3 separate regions of the Homo sapiens genome follow, and regions 1 and 3 are each linked to region 2. Evidence: promoter capture Hi-C in 16 types of primary human blood cells and fetal thymus (Javierre and others, 2016). All regions are on one chromosome and are shown on one strand. The core of a region is centred on a gene start or on the middle of the fragment in contact, and the rest is flanking DNA. Distances in the headings are between cores, read along the strand shown.

What was found. The method cuts DNA at HindIII sites, captures the fragments that hold promoters and counts their contacts. A CHiCAGO score of 5 or more calls a contact.
Region 1: a fragment that was not itself captured here is called in contact with the fragment with the promoter of CPLANE2 in region 2 in 1 of 17 cell types (endothelial precursors); the score reaches 5.2 in endothelial precursors.
Region 3: the fragment with the promoter of CLCNKB here is called in contact with the fragment with the promoter of CPLANE2 in region 2 in 16 of 17 cell types (erythroblasts, M0 macrophages, fetal thymus and 13 more); the score reaches 13.9 in erythroblasts.

The regions. Positions count from the first base shown.
Region 1 is chr1:16,389,369-16,393,258 of GRCh38, reverse strand. It overlaps SZRD1 (SUZ RNA binding domain containing 1), which reads right to left. Exons shown (of 4, transcript NM_001114600.3): 2 at 1,835-1,884; 3 at 1-31. Among named protein-coding and RNA genes, the nearest start is that of SZRD1, 24 kb to the right of the region's middle. RefSeq lists an enhancer at 1-241. The HindIII fragment of the contact is 1,682 bases long and covers 640-2,321 here.
Region 2 is chr1:16,235,260-16,239,349 of GRCh38, reverse strand. CPLANE2 (ciliogenesis and planar polarity effector complex subunit 2) reads left to right here and starts at 2,167. Exons shown (of 5, transcript NM_030907.4): 1 at 2,167-2,719. The coding sequence starts at 2,608. RefSeq lists a silencer at 2,110-2,289 and an enhancer at 2,130-2,674. The HindIII fragment of the contact is 3,895 bases long and covers 1,369-4,090 here.
Region 3 is chr1:16,042,050-16,046,165 of GRCh38, reverse strand. CLCNKB (chloride voltage-gated channel Kb) reads right to left here and starts at 2,384. Exons shown (of 20, transcript NM_000085.5): 1 at 2,286-2,384; 2 at 1,574-1,680; 3 at 480-608. The coding sequence starts at 1,673. The HindIII fragment of the contact is 13,884 bases long and covers 144-4,116 here.

The DNA of each region.
Region 1 (3,890 bases), core at 231-2,730, 150 kb before region 2:
GGGCACTTTGGGAGGAGATTTGGATTTCCTGCTGACAAAGAGCAAACACAGCTTCACAAATCATGCTCCTGACTAAGGAGGCCCTGTCCATGTCCCACACCCACCTCTCATCACTTTCCTCTCCCTCCCTAATTCTACCCATGCATGATTCTCTGGCCTCTGACCAGACAGCAAAATTTCCACTCCTCAAGAAGGGTGTCCCAAAAAAGTAAGCTTGCGACCAGCTCTGACAGGCCACAGGAACTGCTCCTCAGCCCTAACCCCTGGCCACAGGGGCTGGAACGCCACCTCATTCTGGCACTTCTATCCCCATGTTCACCACAGCCACATCAACCACTATTTGGCCCTGCAGCAAAACAGTTTATGTCCAGAATTGAATGACGTCAGTTAAGATCCCAGCTTCTCTACGCAGATCAGAGTAGGACTGGCTGGTGGGGTGGGAGCCTTTGAACTTGGGGGTCAGCAGTGTTCACTCAGCCAAATCTTCCATCACATGCTCAAACCAGACAAACACTACAAAGGAGCCCACTACGCCATCCCTGCCTGGCATCAAGATTTACCAAGCCACCTTCTAGTGAGAGTGACCTGTGCCTCCCAGAGACAAGCTACACCAGACAACTGAATCCTCTTCAAAAAGCTTCTGAACAGAGAAACCTCCCTTGCCAGGGCTCCCTGGTCTTTTGGACAGCGGCGGGGCTGGAGTGAAGGATGCTCCTAGAAACAGTGCTTGGCAATGCTCAAAAGAAAAGCATTGTCCAAGGCTGGTGGACGCGTACATCAAGGCGATGTGTCCACAGGGAGAGGTGGAATGACAAAAAACAAAGAGGGACAACAACACAGGAAGGGAAAGAAACAAAAGCCACAGGAGGAGACAGGAACCCAGGCAGGAATGACCACCCGACAACAGCCACCAGGACCCTACCCAGAGCAGTCAACCAGCTTCTCTTCAGAACCAAACAAGCCTGCTTCCAGAGCCTTGGCTGTCAGGAGGAGTCGGGATTGGAGGAACTGAGCCAGGGTGGATGGAAACAAGTCTCGGGTAGGACACAAATGGTATGGAACGAGGACTGTAACCCAGGGTTAGCGTGGTTGCTGAGATGAGCAGACAGACAAGGAGCCAGCAATCTGATCAAAGAGGCAGGGAGCCAGGAAAACTAGCGGGCGGGCAGAGCACCCAGAGTTTCCTGGGGAATGACTGTGCAGCCCCGTGAGCAAATCCAGAGGGGCCCTATCCTCCTTCCTGTCCCTTGTACCTATGGAAAACCAACAGGTTCCCTAAGCCCAAAAGCAGAAAGCCGAAGTCAACTTTCACCTACTCTGGAAACACCCTCCTCTGTCGTCTAGGTGGAAAACAAAGCTATTTTTAAAGGTTTTTTCAAGAATTTCCTAGAATGTTTTCTTCCAGGATACCCTCATAATACCCTAGACCACCAAGTCACTGGGGACCCAGAGAAATCATCTGCCCACACTCCTCATGCCACAGAGAAAGAAACTGATGTCCAGATCTGGGAAATGACTTGCCCCAGACCTCAGAGCAACTGGGGCACTGCCAGGCCTAAAACTCAAGTCTTCCAACTTGTCACTTCCTCACATTGCATCAGATGACCTCACACAGGGAGCCCACGAAGGTCAGAGGCAGGTGCAACACCCCAGCCTCAACCCTAAAGCCTCAAGCCACCACGTCCTGGTCTCCAATTTGGAGGGAAGGGTTTGCTGCCCCAGAGCCTGACCTGCTAGGACCTGCTAATCCTAATGGCCAGCTGGAGAACACCACTGACTGCCCGGCTCTCAAACCACAGAGAGCATGAGCCCTCAGACCAGACAGCAGCCTTACCTCTCTTTTTGTGTGATCTTCAGTTTTTTTTCCAACCGTCTGTCTATTTCCTAGAGGAAAAAAATGTATATAAAAAGAGGAAAAAATCTCTCTCAAATAAAAACTTAGTCTTTATTTTTGGAGCTAAGGGCAGTGTCCTTTCTCTAGCCAGGGACATGACTGTGTCCTTCAACATAACAAATGTGGACTAGATTTTGGGGTTTGGGGACCTGATACCCTCTGCAGGTCCATCTCCCTTCTAGCCCCATGGCCGCCATGACAGTTCTAAACCTCATTGTTCAGCTGGGTTCTTTGCATAGCCTCCAACCAGTTTTCTGACCTGTAATCTGTCTTTCACAGAGCCACTCATATCAACTTCTAAACCTAAACTTAGGAACACTTACTCTATTTTATGAAATAAAGAGTTGGAAAAAAAATTAAACATAAATCTGATCATGTCACTTCCCTACTTTAAACCCTTCAACTGCTTGCAGACCTAGTCAAAGCTTCTGAGCATGCCTCACCCATACCTTCTTTTACCTTCTGTCTCTGTTTTGCTATCACTAGCCCCCAGAACTCAGCATGCTGTTCCACCTGCCTGCAATGTCCCCTCCCCTTGCAAACTCCCATTGATCCTGCACAACCCAGCCTGGATGTCTACCTCTCCTTTATAAAGTCTCCTCTGATCCCACCAGCATGGTGCATCACCTGGTCCTCAGAATAAACTCTCCCTTTTACATTCCTTTATGGTCATATCTAATATTTTAATAATGTATTTTTTACTGTTACGGACTTGAACTCTCTGTGACTGGCACCTACCGAAAGGCTTAGAGTAAAACCTATGCCTTATGTTTGTGGCTTTGGAGGTCCATGGTCTACAAGTGAACATGGGGAACCTGAGGAAGAGACAAGACACCTGAGAGTGCAGCAAGTATTTCTCTCAGAACCAGAGCCTGACAGGTCTTGATTAAAACAACACCACCATTTTAGAGAAAAGCAGAGAGAAGAAAGAGGCTGAGAAGGAGGAGCAGGCAGGACTGCCTTCCAACACGCCCTGGCCTCATCTCTTCAAGCCCTGAGCAGGACATTGGGCTCATGGCAGTCTGAGCCCTCAGCCCATCAGCACCAGCATGCCTATGACACCTCCACACACGCGTGTGAGCATCTATATCCAGGACAGGGGTGTGGGGAGAGGCCGTGCACAGAACAAAGACCAAACCCCCAGGCTGCTTGGCTGCCCTACGGCCTTTCTTAGAAAAAGTCCCACTCCCTCAGCCATCCTCAGTGAGGACAAGATCAACTAGCTCTAATGGAGATGGAAGAAACTGTATGCAAAATTCTGTGTTTTTCTAGAGACAAGATCTCTAATGGTGGTTCTCAACCAGATAAGATTCTGTCCCTCAGGGGACACTGGACAATGTCAAGCCATTTTTGGTTGCCACTATTGGGGAAATGCTAAATGTCCTACAGTGTACAGGACAGCCCCACACAAAGAACTATTTAACCCCAAAAGTCAACAGTGCTAAGTCTGGGCAACCTTAATTTATTAGACTGGGATTTTCAAAGAAGTCCATCACTTGCAAAATGTGAAGAACCACAGCCGTAGTGTGGAGACTTTGAAATTTGGTGAGATCTGCCCCATGGCTCAGCATGTAGGCCATTTTCGTAAGTGCTCTGTATGTTCTGAAAATAACTATTCTCAGCCCAGCGCGGTGGCTCACGCCTATAATCCCAGCACTTTGGGAGGCCGAGGCGGGCGGATCACGAGGGCAGGAGATTGAGACCATCCTGGCTAACGCGGTGAAACCCCGTCTCTAATAAAAATACAAAAAATTGGCCAGGCACGGTGGCTCACGCCTGCAATGCCAGCACTTTGGGAGGCCGAGGTGGGCGGATCACGAGGTCAGGAGATCGAGACCATCCTGGCTAACACAGTGGAAACCCCATCTCTACTAAACATACAAAAAAAAAAAAAATTAGCCAGGCGTTGTGGCGGGCGCCTGTAGTCCCAGCTACTCAGAAGGCTGAGGCAGGACGCCTGTAGTCCCAGCTACTCAGAAGGCTGAGGCAGGAGAAT
Region 2 (4,090 bases), core at 918-3,417:
AACCTCCAGAGTAGCTGGGATTACAGGCGCCTGCCATCACAGCCAGATAATTTTTGTATTTTTAGTAGAGACAGGGTTCACCATGTTGGCCAGGCTGGTCTTGAACTCCTGACCTCGGGTGATTTGCCCGCCTCAGCCTCCCAAAGTGCTGGGATTACAGGCGTGAGCCACCGCGCCCAGCCATTTTTTTGTATATTTTTAGGGATAAGGTTTTGCCATGTTACCCAGGCTGGTCTCAAACTCCTGACCTCAAGTGGTCCACCAGCTTCAGCCTCCCAAAGTGCTGGGATTACAGGCGTGAGCCACCGCACATGGCCCCAAGAGGACTTTACATCTTCTCTGGGTTGCAGATTAACAGGCACGTTCATTCTGCCAAGTTGCTTCATTTTCTCACACGCTCACTGAGCCCTCCACGAGCCAAAGATGGGTGGATGTGAAGTCTGGAAATCCAGAAATAATTCAGATCAGAGCCCTGCCACTGAGTGACTCCTGGCCCATGGAGAGAGCTCTGGACAGCTGTGAATCTCCCTGACTGGGCAGATGTGACAGCTGCAGGAATGGGAACCATGTGACCTGGGAGTATGGGCAAAGGATTCCACCTGCAGAATCCTGTAGGAATGGTTATTCATCTGGTTTTTCTGCCTAGCCACAGCGTGAGCAAGTTGAGAGAAAGCACCTTGTCTTACACATCCTCATCCCCTCTCTTAGACATAATGGGCCTTAAAAATCTGTGAGTTCGTAGTCCTCTGGCTGCTTTCTGCTTCCCTAGGAACAGCCCTCCTAGTGGCTAGGGGCAAAGTTTTAAAAACACAAAACCCAAACTGGCAGAACAGATAAGTACTTTAGAGTCAGGTAAGTGTGGGTTCTTTTTTTTTTTTTTTTTTTTTTTTTGACAGGGCCTAGCTCTGTCACTCAGGCTGAAGTGCAGTGGCATGATCTCGGCTCACTGCAACCTCCATTTCCCGGGCTCAAGCAATCCTCTCATCTCAGCCTCCAAGTAGCTGGGACTACAGGCGTGCACTACTGTGCCCGGCTAATTTTTGTATTTTTTTTTTTGTAGAGGCAGGGTCTTACTATGTTGCCCAGGTTGGTCTCAAACTCCTGAGCTTAAGCAATCTGCCCGCCTCAGCTTCCCAAAGTGCTGGGATTACAGGCGTGAGCCACCACACCCAGCCAGCTGTGGGTTCTGAGTCGGTTTCACACTGACTAGCTGTGCGGTGTGACCTCAGACAAGTCACGTTATGTTTCTGAGAGTCTTCGTCAGTACAAGAGGGTAATACTATTTACACAGGTTTGTTTATAGAATTAAATCAGGTGACCCCTGTAAAGTCCCCACTGTCTGGCACTTGGGTGGCCTTAGGTAAAGCTTAACTCCTAAATTATTCCTTTCAAAACAGTGATTTGCCCTACTTGAAGGCATTGCGGAAAGATAATGGTAAAAATTAAATGTAATAGACAAACTCTCAGTAATGACCCACCTGCACTCTTTCCAACCAGTGGGCATTTACTGAGCACCCACCTTCTGGGTAACAGGCCTGGTGTCCAGTGCTGGAACGGTGGAGAGGAGCTCAGAGTTTCAGAGCTGAAAAGTCAGCTCCAGGAGAGCAGGGACTTCTTGTTGGCCACTGTATTCCCAGCTAGGTGCTCAGTATTTGTTGAATGAATGAATGAATGAAAAATACAATCCAGCGGGCCTCTGACTCATTTTTTAAAACTTGAGCCAAGTCCCTTGACCTCTCTGAGCTGGTGTGTGTCCCCATCAGTGAAGCCAGAGATGTTTAAGTCATCTAGAGGTCCTGCCAAGCAGGATTAATAGAGCAATAATATTAATAATAGCAACAATCATAACTAAACATATGGAGCACTGCTATGGAGGGAATAACATGTTACGTCCACGTTATAGAAGAGGAAACTGAGACACAGAGAAGCATGAAAGGCTCCTGGAGGGGGGGTTTCATGATGTTTTGGAAGAAAGACTAGGGATCGGACGGAGTCATAGAGAAGAGGATCCACAACCCAGAGGAAAAGGCCTAGTCCAGAGCCACCGCGCGGCGCAGGCTGCGGACGTTGTAGGAGGGACGAACGCCTCCCGGAACCCGCCCAACCCAACCTCCGGCGTCTCCATGGCAACAACCTCCGCACATGCGCCGCGCGCACCTGCGCCGGAGCTGCCAGCACGCGCAGAAGGCGGACGCAGGCGGGGCGGAAGTGGGCCCGGCGGGCTGGGGCGGCGGGAGTGCGGGTGGGCGTTTAAAGGGGCCTTCGGCACCCAGGTCGGTTCGCCGCCGGGACTGCTGACGGGGAGGGCTAGGTAGCCCTGGGAGTCGGGATCTAGAAGGTAGAGGAGAAGCGGGGCTGTCTGACCCCCGGAGGTGACAAGGGGAGAGGGGCTGTGTGAATACCCTCCATGGGCAGTAATGGGATGACTATCCCCAGGGAGCATTGCGAAGGAGAGAGGCGGCTGAGGGACTGCACTTTCTGGGGCCCCCCGGGAGAGTCAGAGGGCAGTTAAGAGGGATCACAGGCCCGGCTTGGTACTGTCACTCCCCTTCCCACTCCCTGCTCTCAGCATTCTGTCACCTCCCTACCCCGTCGCGGTGCCCAGCCATGGCCAGACCTCCCGTGCCCGGTTCGGTGGTTGTCCCAAACTGGCACGAGAGTGCCGAGGGCAAGGAGTACCTGGCTTGCATTCTGCGCAAGAACCGCCGGCGGGTGTTTGGTAAGTGCCTCCCCCTTTCCTCTAGCCCGCCACTTGTCTTTCCCTGGGGAGAAGAGTGTCACCTGTTGCTCCCTGAGGAGAGCAGAGAGGCAGGGCAGTGAGGGCCTGCTCCACTGCAGTCTTCAGCAGTCTTCAGCCTGGGGGACTGAAAGCCCTAGCTCTGGGACCCCCACACCTAAATCTCCTTAGAGCTAATTCCATCGTCAGAGCCAGGAACATGGAAACAGCAGAAACCTTGCCAGCAACCACTGTCACCAGAGATGCAGTTGATTGAGCACTCCCCTGGTGCCAGGCCCTCTGTTGGGCACGTTACACAGTGCACGCCCATTTAACCTCTCAACAGCACATGGTACAGACTTGGCTAAGATCACACCCCAATAAATAGAGGTGAGCCTCTTCCATGTCCTGCTGTCTCTGGGATGAGACGCTGGTGTTCCCCATGGTGAAACTGACTCACCCAGGCAGGGCCCAGCTGTCAGGCCGGCAGAGGTGCCTGGAATCAGCTGTGGAGCCCAGCTCTGGCCAGGAGAAGCAAGGTGCCAGAAGACTTAAGACCAGAGAGTGAGATAGCTAGAACCAAAATTTGTGAATAAGTCAACTGTTTGTTTGTTTTTTTAAAAGAAATTATATTAAATTCAAAAAATGACCCTCTAGAAGGCTGGGCGCAGTGGCCTGTAATCCCAGCACTTTGGGAGGCCGAGGTGGGCAAATCACCTGAGGTCAGGAGTTCAAGACCAGCCTGGCCAACATGGCGAAACCCCATCTTTACTAAAAATACAAAAATTAGCCGGACGTGGTGGCGGGCACCTGTAATCCCAGCTACTTGGGAGGCTGAGGCAGGAGAATCGCTTGAACACAGAAGGCAGAGGTTGCAGCAACCCTAGATCGAGCCATTGCATTCCATCCTGGGTGACAAGAGTGAAACTCCGTCTCAAAAAAAAAAAAAAAAAAAAGACCCTCTAATATGGCCACTGTCCCTCTAATCCCATGATGGCTGGCAACACTGTATTTGGGGTCACACATACCCAGGCAAGTGACCCAGGCTCCACCACTGCTAGCTGTATGGCTGGGAATAAGTGAACTCTAGCCTCAAGTCCCACCTCTGTAAAATGGGGATAATCACAGTATTTACCCCATAGAGTTACTGGGGAAATTAATAAGGAGGGTGTTTGTAACATACCAAGCAGGTTCTGGCATGCAGTGGGTGTTCACTGAAGGTTGGCTGTTATTGTATTTATTTTGCATTTAGTTGTGTTGAGTGGAAGAGAATTGAGTGAAGGTTGAGCTGATTTTCTGGGAACATCATAGAATCCACTGACCATATTATCTATGCCACAGATAGGATTAAGCAGCCATAACTTAGAGGAATGG
Region 3 (4,116 bases), core at 1,135-3,634, 190 kb after region 2:
TAGTAGGTGCTGCTTCTGGCAGCTGAGGGTCTCCAGAGAAAGTGTCTTAGACCCTTCCTGCCCACACCCCCTCTTCCAGGGAGGCCTCAGGGTGGAGGCAGGCTGCTGAGGGATGGGGTGGGATGGGGAGGAAGCACCAAGCTTAGTGTTATAGGGAAGTGCCCCCACTCTGCCCCAGGGCATGGAGGAGGGAAGGAGAAGAAACAGGGTGGCTGGAAGAGGAGGCAGAGAGCTCAGAGGAGGAAGAGCTCTTGGGAACATTCAGGCCTCTCTCCCTTGTGCAAATGAGATGACTGAGGCCCAGAGAGGGGCAGGAGCCTGCCCAGGATCACAGAGCAAGTCAGGAGTAAAGCCAGGACCAGATCCCCACCCAGAGCACCCCCCCCAACCTCCGCTGCACCTGGCGACATCCACCTGGCATCCCCAGAGAGAGCTCAGAATCCCTTGGCCCAGAGCAGCACCTGCCATGGAGGGGTTACCTCGGACCACACTCTCAACAGCCAAGTCCATGGCACAGCTGACCAGGGCCATGAGCACCCCGAGGGTCATCAGGAAGTACCAGTCCTCGCCCAGGCGGAAGAGCTTCTGCTTCAGCCACTCCAGGCCACCTGGGGCAGGGCATGGGGTCACGGCACAGGGTGGGGCAGGAGGCACAGACAGTCCCATCCTTGGAGGCCTGCTGGGCTTCAGGCAGAGAGGCTGGGGCAGGGGGATGGAGCTTGGTGGTATACTCTGGGGTAGTCCCGAGGGGGCCCTGCCTCACATAAGTGGCCGGGCAGGATTTGTGGGAGGTGACAGTGGTGACACAGTGGGTGCCAGGACTGCTGCCCCTACCAGAAAGCCGTTGACCTGCCGACCCTCCGCATCCCTGCCTGTACTGGGAGGTTCCTGGGGGACAGGGAGTATGGAGGGGGCTGGCAGCTACAGCTTTCACCTGCATCCCCGCAGAGTCCATAGCTTAGAGAGCACCAGGATCTAGCAGACTCCTGCGTGTCCCAGGACCTGTGGCGCCAGGTATCCTCTGGGTCCCCAGCAATGCTCCTGGCCCACTGGCTGCTAGCCCAGCCTGGGAGCTGGCCCTCACTGGCTGTGGGCACCAGCCCCTGGGGTTGCAGTCAGCCTCCTTCTGTGGTCCCTACTTGCTCTGCCCCGTAGCTGAGGGGACAGTCAGGTCTCAAAGTGAACAAAGCACATGGGGCTCCAAGGAAAGGTGCCAAGTGTAGGCTGCCCCAGCCCCTTGCTGTGGCCCCAGCTGTCCCAGCAGCTAACCCCCACGTCCCCTCATTGGCACAGGTAGGTGAGGGAGAGGCCTGGGTGGAAGATGGGCACAGTGACCAGGCCTTGGGCTGTATCTCCCGAAAGGCAGAGGGCAGATGCCCGGCCCATCTGACCCACAGACAGCTGGACAGACAGACCCCTTCCCTCCCTGCCACCCAGGAGACTTTGGGCAGTCATGTCCTGGACAAATGCCAGGAGGAGGGTGGTTCCTGGGCAGGGAGGTGGGGTGGGAGCTGGGCAGGAATGATGTCCTGAGTGGTCCTCCAGGGGGAAGGGAAGAGGACCTGGCTCTCACCTCGGATGCCTCGGCGGATGCGGGGACAGGGGCCCCACAGCTCCTGCAGAGTCACAGGGTTCCCTGAGGAGCCTTCACGCAGCCCCACAAACTCCTCCATCAGGCCCCTGGAGAAGCGGATAGAGGGAGGGACCGCGGTGAGCTGCTGCACGTCCTCGCACTGCCTCTAGGCCCTTCCAGTGCTCTCCCCACCCATGAAGAGGAAAGATTGTGCGTGTGTGTGTGTGTGTGTGTGTATGTGAAGTTATCACACTAGGTCTGTGTGTGCCTTCATCCCTGAGTTTCCGTCACTGAGGGTGTGTGCCTGTGTGTGTCATTGTGTGGGATGGGGGTGGGATTCCTAGGTGTCCCCCTGTGTCCAGCAGCAGACTGGGCACAGGCCGGAGCCCAAGCCCTGCTCAGAGCCCCTTCCCCTTCGGTGGCAGCCGCTCCCACCCTCCTGGGTCACTTGGCGCTTCCACTGCTGGGAGCAGTCTCTGCCCAGGGCTGTGACACTCTCACTGCAGAGTCCCATGGATGGCTCTGACTCTCCCTGTCCACCTATGAGCACCCCTGACCCCAGCTCAGGCCACAGAGGCAGCAAAACCCCAGGCCCAGAAGAAGATCCCACCAGGGCCAAAGTGAGGTGCTGGCTCCTGCCCTTACCACCCCCCCCCCCCCGCCCTGCCTGTCTGGCCCTGGCAGGCCCCAGCATCTTGCAGCGACCCCTCACCTGTCAGTCCTCCTGCTGTGGCTGAGCTGGCCCTCCTCTCACAGAGCCTCCAGCTCCCCTGCACCTGGACAGGTGTGTGTTCCAACAATCAACATCCTCCCCCCTTTCCCGCCTGGGCCCAGGGTTTATGGCGAACACTTAGAATGTCCTTGAAAACCGATCAGAACTGCCCAGGCCGGAGCAGAGCAGAGCAGAGCTGCCAACAGGGAGGGGAACAGGAGCCTCCCCACCCACCATAGCTGCACAGAGGGTGGTGCCCAGCTGTACTCAGGCTCCTGGGTGCTGCTGGACGGGGGCTGGGAAGGGGGAGCTCACGCACACAGCAGGACAGAGAGGGGTCATCTGCCAAGGCTGAGGCTCAGGGTCCAGGGGTCTCAGAGCTGGACATGGAAGGTTTGGAAAAGCACAGAGGGAGAGGGGAGGAGGCTGGGCAGAGAAGGAGAAAGCAGGCCGGCAAAGGTGAGTGGGGCCAGCATGACCACAGCCTCCCTGTGTGCCAGGTAGAGAGTCAGCCTTCCCCTAGATTAATTACCCTGAGTGCCCACGGAAATCCCACGAGGCAGGCAGCGTGATCCCGTTGTAGAGAAATGGTGTCTCAGGGAGGTGGGGCTGCCCGTCTAAGATCACGGAGGCCGAGGCAGCGCCAGGATTCCCAGCCCAGGTTTGCCTGGCTCCAAAGCCCGCAGGCTGTGCCACACGGTCCCATCCTGATGACCCATCTTGTCCAGGGCTGGCGAGGAGGCCGACACCTGGGGCAAGGCAGTGAATTGGGGTCAGGAACTCAGACTTGATCCTGTGTCCAGACCCTCCAGGCTCAGGAAATGCCTCTCAAAGCACACGTCCAAGGGCCAGCGGCTCTGGTGGGGACTTCTGGGTAATTCCACAGAGTTTGTCCCACCCCAACAGAGGATGGCAGCACAGGTGTGAGGGGACATGGCGAGGAACAAGCACGTGCCGTGTGCCTGCAACGTGTCAGAAGCGTCACATCCGCAGCTCAAGTCCTCCTCCCCACACCCTGTGAATGGGGAGAGCCTCGCCATTTTGTAGATGGTCAGAGAGGTGAGTCACTCATCCAAGGTCACACAGCAGAGGCTGAACCCAGCCCCACACTGTGCAGCTCTTCCCCTGCCCAAAGCTCCTCCAGCTCCTGAGGCTGAACCAGGGCAATGGTTTGGGCACAGAACAGAAGAGTTGTGTCTGATGCCACTTTGGGGCAAGATGTTGGGGGCAATTGCCTCCAGTCCTACCCAGACAAAGCCACTCTCTGAATAACATGATGGCCCTTGGATGATTGTTAAAATCTGGGACCCTGGGCCACCCTTTGCCCCTAGATGCCAGGCAAGTCAAATCAAAATTGAAGGTGTGTGTTGTGGGAGGTGGGATGGGGGTTGCCGCTCTGCATGAACCCGAGCCCACCTTCATCTTGGCCACCCTGACCTGTTGACTCTGCACAGCACCAGAACTGGCTGCCCTGTCAACATCCGGATCCCCAGTGTCTGGTCTGGGGCAGCTGCTGGCTACTGTCCCACAGCCGGCACTGCATGTCCACATCCACCCTCACCCCCCAGCCCTGTGTGCCCCAGGAGGCTGAGAAGAGGGCAGCCAGGGGGCGCAGGACCCAATGCAGGTCCCTCCCAAACCCACTGCCTCCACATCAGCCCTAATTTCTCCCCTTCCATATTAGTCGCCTGGCAGCAGTAGCGGGGGCTCAGTAGAGAGACAGCAGGGGAGAACCCAGGGCGGCTCTGTGACCCTAACACCATCACCATCCGGAGCCTCTGTTTTCCTCCTCTGTCAAATGAGCTGAGCCTGAGACCTGGGTCTCTGTCTC